Regions from separate parts of the Homo sapiens genome. Here regions 2, 3 and 4 are each linked to region 1. Evidence: promoter capture Hi-C in human tissues and cell types (Jung and others, 2019). All regions are on one chromosome and are shown on one strand. Each heading gives the region's core, a stretch centred on a gene start or on the middle of the fragment in contact. The rest is flanking DNA. Distances are from core to core; before and after follow the strand shown.

Region 1 (3,359 bases), core at 317-2,816:
AAAGCTGTATACAAATGAAATAAATAATCACTTGAGCATTGGAGGTCTAGCAATGCTGAGACACTAACTCTATAAATCTGTCAAGGGTCTGAAATTTCCTTGGTTGTAATAACCTATTTGGGTTAAAGTGTTTTCAAGAGACCACTCATAGGCAAATTTTGGTGGACAAAGTTAATATCGGCCCAAGAAGGGGCATCTTCCAAGAGCAGAAACTTTTAAATGAGTCCAAAATAGTAAATAATGATGCAGAATTTTAAGCCCCTCTACTCTCAGTCAACTTCCCTTCCCATGACTTCCCTGGCATTTGTTGAGCTCATTTGGGTTCCAGGCAAAACCTGAGACAAAGTCAAGGCTTGAAAGGGTTGGGGAGAGGCCGTATCCTTCACCCCATTGCCATTTTCAGTCTTCTACATGGATTTGTGGGTGAATCAGTGCTGCCTACCAGAGACCACCTTGGCCAGGATAATTTTATTTCTCCTAATTTAAATATGGAAAACTGATTTTGAGTGATTTTGTTGTAGACTAAAGAAGAAATCAGGGAGGAAGGCTAATTCTCTCCCCCTGCATATTTTCTGCCTTTTTGTCTTTATCACCATCAATGAGTACCCACAATACCGATTGCCTTTACTAACAGCCATAATGTTAGATGGATGAGACTGAGTGTAGTGTAGTGAAGGCACTCCTCTCTTGCTCCAGCAAATAAACCATTTTTGTAACTGCTATAAAAAAAAACCCTTTGAAATGATTTTATTTCTTGTTTTTATTACAAACAGAAAACATAAACCATGTCACCCACCATCTTGTGCTTTGAAATATGAAAGTCAAAGGAAAACTAATTTGGGAAGAGAGATGAAGTGCTTTGAAGGAGAGATGAAACAGCAAAGTTGAAAGATTAATGCTGCATAGACAAATTGAAATCTAAAGTGAAAGTTTAGACAACAGTAATCAAAATGAATGATAACACGAAAAGCCAGCAGGAAGAAAACATTTGAGCCAACAATCCAGTCTGGTTCATCCGGATAAGATGGTTATCTGGCATTTAATGCTGTTTCCTACACCATGAACATAAGCATTTACTGTCATACTAAGAAAAAGAAAAGTCATCCGAATTTATCGCTATTTTTACATGTAGTTAAATTAATTGTTGTCATATTTCCAAGTGAAGTAACATAGGTTTGGCTTTTGCAGTCAGTTCCTCAAGATTCACAGGCTTGGAATATTTTTTAACAATTTAAAGGCCCAAGATTTCTTACAGCCCCAAGAACTTTTCCCTCTCTACTAAGCACAAATCTGAACAAATAATTACACACCACCAACGTAAAACTAGGAGATCTTATTTTGGTACGGTCTTTGTGTAATTTTAAAACATGATTTTAAAAAATAAATTTTCTTACCTGGAAAATGCTGCAATATTATCAGCCAAAGTTTCTTCATCATTTGCCCCAGACCTGTAATAGTCATATATAGACTTTGGAAGTACTGATTTAGCATGTTGTTCATAATCATTGATACAAATTAGCCGGGGGAGCATTTTCACAGGTTATTGCTATCCCAGATGGAGTTCGTTGTTTTTTTTTTTTTAATGTATTGCTTTCTACATCCTCACTGTTCTGTTATTTGTCAATTATTAATAGACTTTTGCCAAAGTTCAGATTTAGTTCTCTGTTGCTTACATCAAGTGAGCAAACATTATATGCTTAGCCTTTGAAATTTCATTTGTAGGCTATCTGCCAAAGAACACCGAAGTCACTATCTGCCAAAGAACACCAAAGTTGAGGTTGGGAAGGCAGCAGAAGGTGATTAGGTGTCTATCACATTAAAAAGGGGAAAGGAATAAGTAAAAAATTAAAGACTTAGAGGAATACCTGTATGAAACCACTCTTGGTTCAGTTTTGCCTAAGGCTGCTTATTGCACATGGTCTGTGCCTGTGCTCTTTGCTTGATACCCAGAATAGGCTGCCCACTCATTTTCTTTCCACATTTGGATCATGCACAAATCATGTAAACAAGAGCTTATGAACTGAACGGGGCATCCATGAAATATGGGGCATCCGTGAAATTCAGGGCTTCTGCACAATATAAAATTTAGCTGATTACAAACATAGACATTTGGCTTTAACATGGAACATTAAGGCCAAATTGACAGCTAATTGTTTTATTCATTCTGTATATTTGAGGTTTACAACATGATATTATGAGATACATATACACAGAAAAATGGTTACAGTAGGGAGGCCAATATAATATATGTATCATCTCACCCGTAATTACTTTTTTGTGTGTATGACAAGAACAGCTAAAATCAACTTATTTAACAAAAATTCCTAATATGATACAATTTTATTAACTTTAGTCCTCATTTTGCACGTTTGCTCTCTAGACCAGGGGTCCCAAACTCCCCAGCATGGACTGGTACTGGTCCGTGGCCTGTTAGGAACCAAGCTGCACAGCAGGAGGTGAGCAGCCGGTGAGCAAGCTTTACAGACTGAGCTCCGCCTCCTATTGTGAACTGCACATGCGAGGGATCTAGGTTGCGCCACTCCTTATGAGAATCTAATGCCTGATGATCTGAGGTGGAACAGTTTCATTCCAAAACCATCCACCTACCCCCACTGCCCATGGAAAAATTGTATTCCACAAAACTTGTCCCTGGTGCCGAAAAGGTTAGGGACCCTGTTGTAGATTTATGTATCCTACGTGTCTACTATTTTGTATCCTTTGACCTATATCACCCCTTTTCCTCTTCCCTGCTTCCCACTAGTGGTATTCACTGTTTCATTCTCTAGCTCTGTGCATTTGAAGTCTTTTTTAAAACAAAATCCCACCTATAAGTGAAATAATGCAATAATTTCCCTTTTGTGCCTGGCTTATTTCACTTAGCATAATGTTCTCTGGGTTCTACTGCAAATGACAGGATTCCCTTCTCTTATAAGGCTGAATAATATTTCATTGTGTGTATATCTATACATTTCCCTTATCCATTTGTCTCTTAATGGGCATTTAGGTTTACCATTAATTCTTTTTTTTTTTCTTTTTGAGATGGAGTCTTTCTCTGTCTCCCAGGCTGGAGTGCAGTGGTGTGATCTCGGCTCATTGCAGCCTCTACCTCCCAGGTTCAAGAGATTATTCTGCCTCAGCCTCCCAAGTAACTGGGACTACAGGCATGTCCACCACGCCTGGCTAATTTTTGTATTTTTATTTAGTAAAGATGGGGTTTCACTATATTGGCCAGGCTGGTCTCAAACTCCTGACCTCAAGTGATCCAACCACCTCGGCCTCCCAGAGTGCTGGGATTGCAGGTGTGAGCCACTGCACATGGCCTACCACTAATTCTTAGAGTCTTATCTTGCCCTGGAGAG
Region 2 (3,359 bases), core at 321-2,820, 51 kb after region 1:
TATGAGTGTTAGGATTAGTGGTACCATGTCCTTGAAGTTTTGCTTTATATATGTTTCCAAAGGAATAGCTTATTAAATAAAATCCAATTCAGTTTTAGATCATTGTGTTTCTGTTTCTTTAACTACCAGGCAAAGTGACAGTTTTCACTTGTGGAAAATACTGATCCTTATTCAATATTATATGTGCTTACCACAAGGAAATATCCCATGCTGTTCGCTGAAAATGCACAAAAATGTAAACTGATGGGCATGATACCTTATACTATGGTACTAGATGAATAAGAAAGTATCTTACTCGGGCTGGGCGCGGTGGCTCACACCTGTAATCCCAGCACTTTGGAAGGCCGAGGCGGGTGAATCACGAGGTCAGGAGTTCGAGACCAGCCTGGCCAATATGGTGAAACCCTGTCTCTAACAAAAATACAAAAATTAGTGGGGCTTGGTGGCAGGCGCCTGTAGTCCCAGCTATTTGGGAGACTGGGGCAGGAGAATTGCTTGAACACGGTAGGCGGAGGTTGCAGTGAGCTGAGATCGCCCCACTGCACTCCAGCCTGGGTGACACAGTGAGACTCTGCCTCAAAAAAAAAAAAAATCTTAGTCTGTTCACTGAAAATGCACTAAAATGTCATCTGATGGGTGTGACACCTTATACTATCATAGTACATGATTAAGTTAGAGCTAACTTTTGGCTACATACATATTTGAGTGAGAAGATGAAATTAAAACATCATTACAACAGAATAAATGAGAAGAGCATTCTAATCAGTGGTCAGACAGACTTAAGGAAGACAGCCAAGCCAAGGCCTCCATGCATCTGAGGTAGAGCCTTCCCTCCCCAGAAAGGCAAGCACTCCCTCTGGAAGTCTAAACTACTGCAGGTTGGATTAAATACTACTTAGTCACACCCACTCATCCAGCCCAGTGTTGCAGAGTCTCATTCAAACCTAGACTGGCCCTGAAGGACAGAGAGCCTTTGGATTTAGAGTTCACCTGTGTCATAGGATATACTCTCTGAGGAGTTCTGGAACAAGCCCTTTATCTCTTTCAGACACAGATCAGAATCCCCAAAATATCTTCCCTGCAAGGAAACAGCTAGAAAAGACTCTTCAATGATGGCCAAGGGTTCACCTCTTTCATGCTTTAGCTCTTAGCACTTGTAACAAAACATAACCTTGCAGCCTCTTGTAGGATCTATGAAAGGTACCTTACAGATGTGCACCACTGTCTCACTATAACATTCTACAAAACATTCTAAACATTTTTATACGAAAAAAACATTGAGAAGAGGCATGCTATGTAAATCACAGAAGAATGTTTTCAAGTTTTAAAATACACTTTGTTCTTCTCTAGTCTAAATGTTCATGGCTTTTAATTCTCATCATCAGATATTTTAAATAAAGCCTTAAGTTTTCTGTCACGTCATTCTAATAAAAAGGGAAGGTAGCATCCATCACACAGATTGTCCTCCCAAGGATGTAGCACATCTTATTTTAGCTAAAATCTGCCATATGCCTACATCCTCTCAAAACGACAGTAACATTTAGGAAAGGGAAGTTACATCCTATATTATCAGTGAGCAGCAGAGATTCAACAAATCCAATAAAAAATGCTTTAAATACATTTAAATGCTAAACTTAGTTCGCAAAAGCATATACAGGTTGAGTATCCCTTATTCCAAATGCTTGGGACCAGACAGCCTTCAGATTTCTGATTTTTTCAGATTTTTGCATTACACTTACCAGGTGAACATCACAAATCCAAAAATCGGAAATTCAAAATGCTCCAGTGAGCACTTCCTTTAAGTGTCACGTTGGTGCTCAAACAGTTTCAGATTATGGAGCATTTTGGATTTTGGATTTTTGGATTTGGGGATGCTCAACCTATATGCTGAGCAACTGCCACGGAACCCTATTTTAAGCCTGCTATCAGCATTGGCTAAAAAAATTAACAAAAGTTAAAGTATTCCACGTTGGCTATAAAGAGAAGGAAAAAGTAAAATAATGAAGACAATAATGATTAATACATATAACTAACAAAAAGCAATTATCAAGCACATTAACTAGGTACCAGATTCTGCACTAGGCACTCAAAGGGTTCTAGGAACAAGTCTATGGCTGGAAAAAAAAAAAATAGGATTCAGGGGCCTACACATAAGGTGTGAAACAATGATGTGTTTCTGGAAGAGAAGGATAGTGCCACTCTGTAGCACTGTAGCCAACTGTGAAAAGAGGGAAGACAGAAGACTGGACAGTCTCTCTCCACACATGTGCCACACACAAAACCCAAGAACTTCTAATCCTAACTATGCCACCAGACTTGGCAGTGATGCTTCCTGAAGTTCAATCTTCTGCACATTGCTTTTATGATATTCACCTCACCTTGTACTATCCATTAGAGTATTAACATTTTTCATTTAGTCACTAAGTTGCATACAATTTTAAAGAAATTGGATATTGCTACTATAATATAAAATCAAAATCAATTTTGTCCTTTGAAGATGTCAACTCTCTGAGAAACTCCTCTAACTGTCCCATCTCCTAGGCCTCAGTGACTCCATCTGTGAGATGGGTAAAATGTTGAGACTATTTGTGAGGATAGATATTAACAGCTAATGAGGTAATTACTTCTGTGAGTTTATATAAAAATTAAAATATGCAGGTGAGCGCCATCATGAGTGAATTGGAAAGAAAATTTAAATTTAGTGATGGAAAGAACACTGGAGATCATCTACTCTTGTCCATATTGTGGTATGAATGACATATCGAGGATCCCTGGGATTCAGGGTAACAGCAGGAAGCTGACAGGAACTGCCTCATAAGACTATTCAAGGGACTTTCTCACCTCAACAGTTTACTCAAGCAAGAACATAGGGGAGGTTGGTATGAAGTTAAGAAGGCCAAATGCAAACCAAACCAACTCCTGAGTTGATAGGAATTCGGCCATGTGAGTGTCTCATCACCAGGTGATCCTAGAATCTTGAGGACCAGCTTTTATCTCCAGAATGTGCAACCTAGCAAGTTGGCTTCACTTCTAAGGCAGAAAGAAACCCAAGCCCCTTAAGGAATCACTAATTCAGTAGGCGCTGATCTTCTAGATATATCTCTGATCTTCTAGATATCTTCTAGATAATTACTAGCTCAATAGGCTCTGATCTAAATATATTGTTTTCATTTTTTCATTACAGAAGAAAATAGAAGTTATAGAAAAAACGTTTTTAAAAATCACCCATATCAGAGAAAACTACTGTTGATCTCTAAGCATTTTCCTATATACACACAAAAACGCCATATAAACATCCATTATACTGTTTTGTCATCTTCCCTGCAGATATACTTACATCTAACCAGCTACCCATCCAG
Region 3 (3,359 bases), core at 258-2,757, 47 kb before region 1:
TCTCTTTGTTTCTATTGCATTTGCTTTTGGATTCTTGGTCATGAAATCATTCCCTAAACCAATGTCTAAAAGGGTTTTTTCAATGTTATCTTACAGAATTTTTATAGCTTCAAGTCTTAGGTTCGGTTATTGTTTTTTAAAAAACGGTCTCAGGGAACAAACTCAAAAGCCCTTCTAGACGTGTCCATATTCTCTCAGCGAGAGGGAAATAAGCAACACCATTTGGCTATTTTTCCCTTAAAATCTAGTTAGATTTGATTTCAGTAGATTTATATTTAATTTTTAGAAAACAATTTGGCCCGCCCACTAAGTCTACATCTCCATACACAAGTGAGTCATGAATCTGAGAAAAAGCTTTGTGCTGTGACCAACCTCTCCACCCTACTCAGAGGAGGTCTTCACTTTCCACGTCTGTTTACCTGCAACCAACATTTAATATCACCTAGAACAGTGTGTCTCTGGGAGCAAAACTGAGTTGCAAAGAGCTGACAACTTCCAGTTTTCATTACTTTTCATCTTTTGTTTGTTTGTTTTGTTTTTTGAGACAGAGTCTCACTCTGTTGCCCAGACTTGAGTGCAGGGGCATGGATCTCGGCTCACTGCAACCTCCAACCCCCTGGTTCAAGCAATTCTCCTGCCTCAGCCTCCCAAGTAGCTGGGATTACAGGAGTGCACCACCATGCCCAGCTAATTTTTGCATTTTTAGTAGAGACGGGGTTTCACACATCGGCCAGGCTGCTCTCGAAATCCTGGCCTCAAGTGATCCACTTGCCTTGGCCTCTGAAAGTGCTGGGATTACAGGCGTGAGCCACCACTTGACTGTATAATCCTACAATATACAAAGACTTACTTGGTTCCTACCATTAGTGCTTTAGGAAAAACTCAACGCAATATGCACACCCAATATTCCCTGCCATCATTTACTCCGCCATCACAGCCACACAATTGGTCTATGAATGTCACTAAATCAACCTGCTAGTTCAGTGAAACAACAGACCACTACTAGTTGGCTAAAGTATTTGTTCTACTCTTTTTCCAGTTGTGTGGATAAATTCAAATGGTCATCCCAATTCCAACCATCTATATAATAACTACCACTGAAGGGTTCCGATAAAAGGGAAAATATTTATATAAGAATCCAGTTCTGAGAGAGGTGGTGGTCTGGAAAGTTCACCCACATTACTTAGTAGATAGATAGATAGGTAGATAGATAGTAAATATATATATATGACAAATATATATATTACTTAGTAAATATGCATAGATATATAAAGTTTTGTTATATGATGCTAGTTACTTTGCCTGTGTAAATCACATTATGAAATATTACAGTTGAAAGGTTTAAATTTTAAAAGATGAAGAAACCAAGATAGGGAGCAGAAAGCAATTCCCTCTGTCCTTCTGCAGTTCAGGCCCTCCTTCTCTCTTTTCTTGGCTATGGTAATTTTAAAGACTACCTCATTGGCCTTTCTGCCTCTTGTCATGACAAAATCCACTTTATGAGACTCATTGCTGCTAAGCCAAGGCTCTTCTATTGCACACCCAATGACTCATAATAGTCAAGGATCTCCTTCCTTATCTATCCAGGCAGATGCATTTCCCAAAACTCTCCCACTCCCACTGAAACCGCCTTTGCAAAAATTATAACTGAGAAAAATATGTCAGTGAAAGAGATCTCGCCTAACTGACTCCATCTTGATTCTAACGGCCAAGCTTTCCTTGTTCATTGCTGAGTGTAGGCCAGACTAACTTTGGGAGAAACTTAGTTCATACTTCAATTTTGAAACAAAGATGATAACAGCTCTTTACCAAAGCAAAACCCCATTCCTGCCTGGGGACTAGGCTGCCTTTGCAGGACTAACAAATTAGTCACAAGATTAGAAATTATGGTTTAGGAGTCATGCAGCTGTAGGCTACAAGATTCTGAACCTCCCCAAATTGCTCCTGGGGATAACGTCACCATTGTAAAACCGAAAAGCAATGCTTGAGATGTTTTGCAGACCCTGTACCTGGATCAGTTGGCACCACTGTCTGATAAACTGGTTCATCTGGTATTGTGGCCTTCAACCAGGAACTGACTCAGAGCAAGAGGACAATTCGACTCTCTATGATTTTTATCTCCCACCTGACCAATCAGCACTCGCCACTTTCCAACCCCTTCCCCACCAAATTATCCTTAAAAACCCTAAAACCCAGTTTTTCAGAGAGACTGATTTTAGTAATAATAAAACTCCAATCTCCCAGTACAGCTGGCTCTGCGTGAATTAAACTCTTCCTCTATTGCAATTCCCCGTCTTGATAAATTGGCTCTGTCTATACAGTGGACAAGGAGAAACGGTTGGGCAGTTACAGCATCAGACACTGCAAACAAGATGGATTATTTAGTATTCCCTGAGCACATCTCACTCTTTCCCATTTTACTCTTAGGCTTATCACACTGCAAAGAGGGTCCACATGGGGCCAGAGCAGAAGCAAAAAATATCTGCAACATCATTGCTCCATCTACAAGAGGCTTGGCCAAATCCCCACAAGTGGACAGCACATAAGGGAACCACTTGATAGCACCCCACCAACGGCCCCCGGCCCCCATTCTGGATCATGGATCCATAAAATCCACCCCAGGAAATGTGTCCCTCTCCATGGCTTCGGATCCATTTCTGGACCCCCAGTCTCTGATCTTAAAATCTGCCCTAAGTGCCTCTGTCGGTTTTCTTGGCTTTAGGATCTTCAGGGTCTAATTGCTCTTCGATACAGTTGTATTCAGTCCCACACCTTTCAGGACAGTTTAGTTCACTTTTACATCTAGATTTTGGACTCTGATTTGCCTACTCCAGTGCATAAAAACCAAAGATGCACATTGGAATCTCCTGATAGCTTTAAAAAAATACTAGTGCCTATACACCCCTAAGCCCCAACCAGAGATTCTGATAAATAGACCTGGGGAGCAGATCAGGATTCTTTAAAGTTCCCCAGATGATTCCAATGTGCAGCCAAGGTGGTTCACAACTCAGCCAGAGTAGCCTATTTGCAGCTCACTTCCCGTTGCCCGGACCTAAGCCTTTTTTCTCCTTTTCCCAACTCTCCACCATTTCTCTGCAGCTTTTCAACCGCCACCCCACAGGAAATTCTGATTATGTCCCTCCTCCTGATTTCTTGTCTCAATTGTACTGATGATCTCAGATTCTACCACAGCCTTTGAAATCCCACAATTCTCTGTTAGCTCATGTCCTTGGACATTCATGGCATAATCCTTTCTTTCATACTCCAGTTTACATACCTATTGGTGTATCTATGAATGCCAGAATAATCCTTGCCCACAAATGACTTATTATTTAACAGAGACTTTCATAGGTTACAAA
Region 4 (3,359 bases), core at 573-3,072, 33 kb after region 1:
GACTTATGAAACAAACATAATGCAGTAAAATTGAGATTATCTTTAAAAGAAAAATATCCCTTGTGAAACTGCAAACTTGACATTAAGTTTAAGACAGCTTCAGTGGCCCTCTCATTTCTCAAGAACATACATTGCATCCCTAACAGAGGCAGACAGCCAGTGTCAATCCTGCTTGGAGCAGTCAAATCCGCTGCCTGCCCTACTGTGCTGAGCACATTCATTCCAAAGGCATCTGGCTGCTGCCATGGAAGTCAACTTCAACCAGGCTTTGGAACTGTTGCAGCAGGCTAATAGCTCCCAGAAACTTGAGAAATTTGTGGAAAATAACAGGCCAAGGAAGGGCCAAATCAAAAAACCTTGAGTTGTGATTTGAGCATTGCACTAAAATGTTATAAGATGTATGGACACAAAAATAAGAAATGCAGCACCTACTATCCTACACCAGGGGCAATTTATAAAGTTAAAGCTAGAAAAGCTGCCATTCATGTTATAGATGTTTCTGAGAGGATGTAGCCATAAGAAGTAAGTGGCTAAAAGAATTCCTAAGGTGGAATGTCTGCCAGGAGTGATGGAAGGAGGCTTGGCAAATGTCCTGGTTGGAGCAGATGGGTGAGCAAGCCATGATTTTCTGGGTTTTAATCCTGAAGCAAGAGTCATATGACCTCTCATTATTGGTGAAGATGACCTAACCTGAGGAGGACAATGAATGAAATGTAACGCCTCCAAGACCATCTAATGGGGCTCACACTGGAGGCTTTGAGCAGATTTAGGGAGCTAGAAGTCATAGTAAAGACACTCCATCTTCGTTAGTCTTTTTATAAGGGTGAACATAAGCAGGATCCAAATCCCAAGCATGGGCCCACAGAGAGCTCTTCTTGGAGACTGGGCACCAATTTGCCTCCAGGGCAAGCAGGTTTCCTGCAATGAGAGATTTTAAGAACTCAACATGGATGAGTCCACATGAGGGTCACCCCTGTCTGCCTAGCCAAACTGGGAGGACTGGACATGATTGGTGTTTACTTCTATCGTGGAGAAGAGGAGCATCTAGTGATAGTTTCCACCCTGAGGGTATTTAATACTAAATCATCTTTCTTTACCCGAGGAATGGGGACTGGAGGAGAGGACTAGAAAGTCTCCAAATGGGGAAGGGGGAGGGAGAGTGTCATTAAATCCTAAATGTAATATGTTGGCCATCAGGGAGTTCTCCCATTCTCTGCCTACAATGTTTGCAGAGAGGACAATGATGAATTTTGGTGGAGGAAGCTAAGCTTGAACTTCTTTGCGAAGTGCCTGACAGGAATTTTGATCTACCCAGTATACATTAGAGAAGTTGGGGGGCAGCAGATGTAAAGTGTAATAGACACATAGGCTCAGCTCTTTTTGACACATGGATATTCATGGCCTCCCACCCACCTCCTCCCCAGTCAAGGAAAATTCTGGCAATGCCATTTTGGTATTTACTACTTTCCTGGAGCTCCATGGCTTTATTATGCAGTGAGAAGAATCTTATAAGCAGAGATGGGATATCTGTTAGAAGGGAACTGTGGAGAAAGGAGCTTTCTCTCAGGAGTAAAGACGGAGGAGTAGTAGGTAAGAGGAGAGTGGTTAGGAAAAGAGAACAATTAGTGTTTGCACTTTGGAAACACCCTAGAGAAATTTCAGGCATAAAAACAAAAAGAGGGGAAGTGGAGCAGGAGGATAGCTTTGGGGACTAAAAGAGGCAAAGAATGAAAGAAAAATAAGGAGTCAATTTTCACTTTTGATAGCTAGATTACAGTCCTTTGAATGCGATAGTCCACAATGATAAAGCTTTATGAACCTCAGGATTTACTAAAACTATGGCTTTCTATCTCATAGCAAAAAAAGGTAGAAAACCCACCATCCAACCTAGGAACTCAACCTCTACCAGTTAACTTCCCCCAGCATTTACACTTACTTCCAGGATTACATCATTCTGATTTCAGAAGTTGGATAGACCAAGGCTGAGTTTCAGTGTCTGTGGGGTCTGCTGACTTATGGTTCATCCTTATTCCTAATGTGAGTCCTTCACAGGCCCTCCCATCCTTAGCCAATCCCTGTCCCCTCAGAAGACAAAGCCCTCATAACCATCACTCAGCCTCTCAACACACCCCTTACCCCTACTCCAGGAACAGTAAATGCCCTCAGGAGAAAAACAGCCCCAAACAACAGGATCACATTCCTGACCTTACAATTTCTCCTAGATCTTGGCCTGATATCCTTCATCATCTTGTATACTTTGATGCCTTCAAGTGTGTAGCTATACATATATTTTAAATTCAGCTTTCCTAGTTGTCTTCATTGGGAGAGGTGGTTAAAATCGTCTAGACCTTCATTAGTGGATGTGGAAGTCTTTTATTATCCCCATTGCAAATATGAGGCACAGAGAAGTTGGGTAACTTACTCAAGTTCACACCGCTGGCAAGTGGCAGATCCCAGAGTCTTCCTGGGATCCAACCCCAGGAAGACTCGTTCTAGTGTTTGTGTTCTCAAACATCTGCTCCTTGCTAGGGTAATATATGTTGCTTTCTGATGATACAAGAACAAATCTTGGAAAATCCTGAGGAATATATTTCTAACATTTTGGCATTTCTCCCAAAGATTTAGTAAAATAGTCCAGGGAATGCCTCACAATCAAAATATTCAAAGGACCAGCTAAGAACTAGAAACTCTCTCTGTGTCTGTCAACAGTGGAAGGTATAAGCAACACATTGAATATTTATACAATGAAATACTACACACTAATAAAAAGAATTGAACTACTGACACATGCAAGATGGATGAACCTAAAATACACTATTTTGAGGGAAAAAAAGTGCCTAATTCTTTTGTGTTATGTGTTACATGCTTATTTTTCCTTTAATTTAAAACTTCTATTTAACAGTTTTATCCAAAGGATTTAGGCAAGTCTCACCTTGCTATCTGATAAACAGTTTCCTTGTGTGATTTGTAACTTTGAATTACAAGTTTATTTTAAGTGAGACTTCATCTATGGGAATCTTTAAGCCAGACTGAGGGTGTTTTCAACAGCAGCTCTGTGCTTGCTTCTGCTAGTATATCCACCCCGCCGCCCCACCATGTACACATCCCGCCGACCCCATTAGCCTTTTTATGAGAATTGTTTTGGTTTAGGTCCTTTTGAGACTATGAAGCTACTGTAAATTCAAACTCCAAGTTGTGTAAGGTCAGACCATTGATTGTGATTTCTTAGGGAAGTCTATTATTTTTCAACACATAGACCAGGCCAAGACAGAAAAGGTTTCTTGAAGTGTCTATGTTCTAGTGAGATTTTTTTATTTCACCAAGGATGTAGCTGGGAATTTTATGTTTCAGTTCCAGCT

Evidence for each region. Contacts are between HindIII fragments. The study calls those that stand out against the background at their distance.
Region 2: a fragment that was not itself captured here is called in contact with the fragment with the promoter of HAO1 in region 1 in 3 of the 25 tissues and cell types used here (H1 embryonic stem cells, hippocampus and liver).
Region 3: a contact is called between a fragment that was not itself captured here and the fragment with the promoter of HAO1 in region 1, in 2 of the 25 tissues and cell types used here (aorta and hippocampus).
Region 4: a contact is called between a fragment that was not itself captured here and the fragment with the promoter of HAO1 in region 1, in 3 of the 25 tissues and cell types used here (H1 embryonic stem cells, dorsolateral prefrontal cortex and pancreas).

Annotation. Positions count from the first base shown.
Region 1 is chr20:7,938,892-7,942,250 of GRCh38, forward strand. It overlaps HAO1 (hydroxyacid oxidase 1), which reads right to left and starts at 1,567. Exons shown (of 8, transcript NM_017545.3): 1 at 1,395-1,567. The coding sequence starts at 1,531. The HindIII fragment of the contact is 11,188 bases long and covers 1-3,359 here.
Region 2 is chr20:7,989,717-7,993,075 of GRCh38, forward strand. All of the region lies in intron 5 of TMX4 (thioredoxin related transmembrane protein 4), which reads right to left. Among named protein-coding and RNA genes, the nearest start is that of TMX4, 28 kb to the right of the region's middle. The HindIII fragment of the contact is 6,623 bases long and covers 1-3,359 here.
Region 3 is chr20:7,891,562-7,894,920 of GRCh38, forward strand. The region is part of intron 5 of HAO1 (hydroxyacid oxidase 1); the gene reads right to left. Among named protein-coding and RNA genes, the nearest start is that of HAO1, 47 kb to the right of the region's middle. The HindIII fragment of the contact is 4,901 bases long and covers 1-3,359 here.
Region 4 is chr20:7,971,509-7,974,867 of GRCh38, forward strand. No RefSeq gene overlaps it. Among named protein-coding and RNA genes, the nearest start is that of HAO1, 33 kb to the left of the region's middle. The HindIII fragment of the contact is 4,514 bases long and covers 1-3,359 here.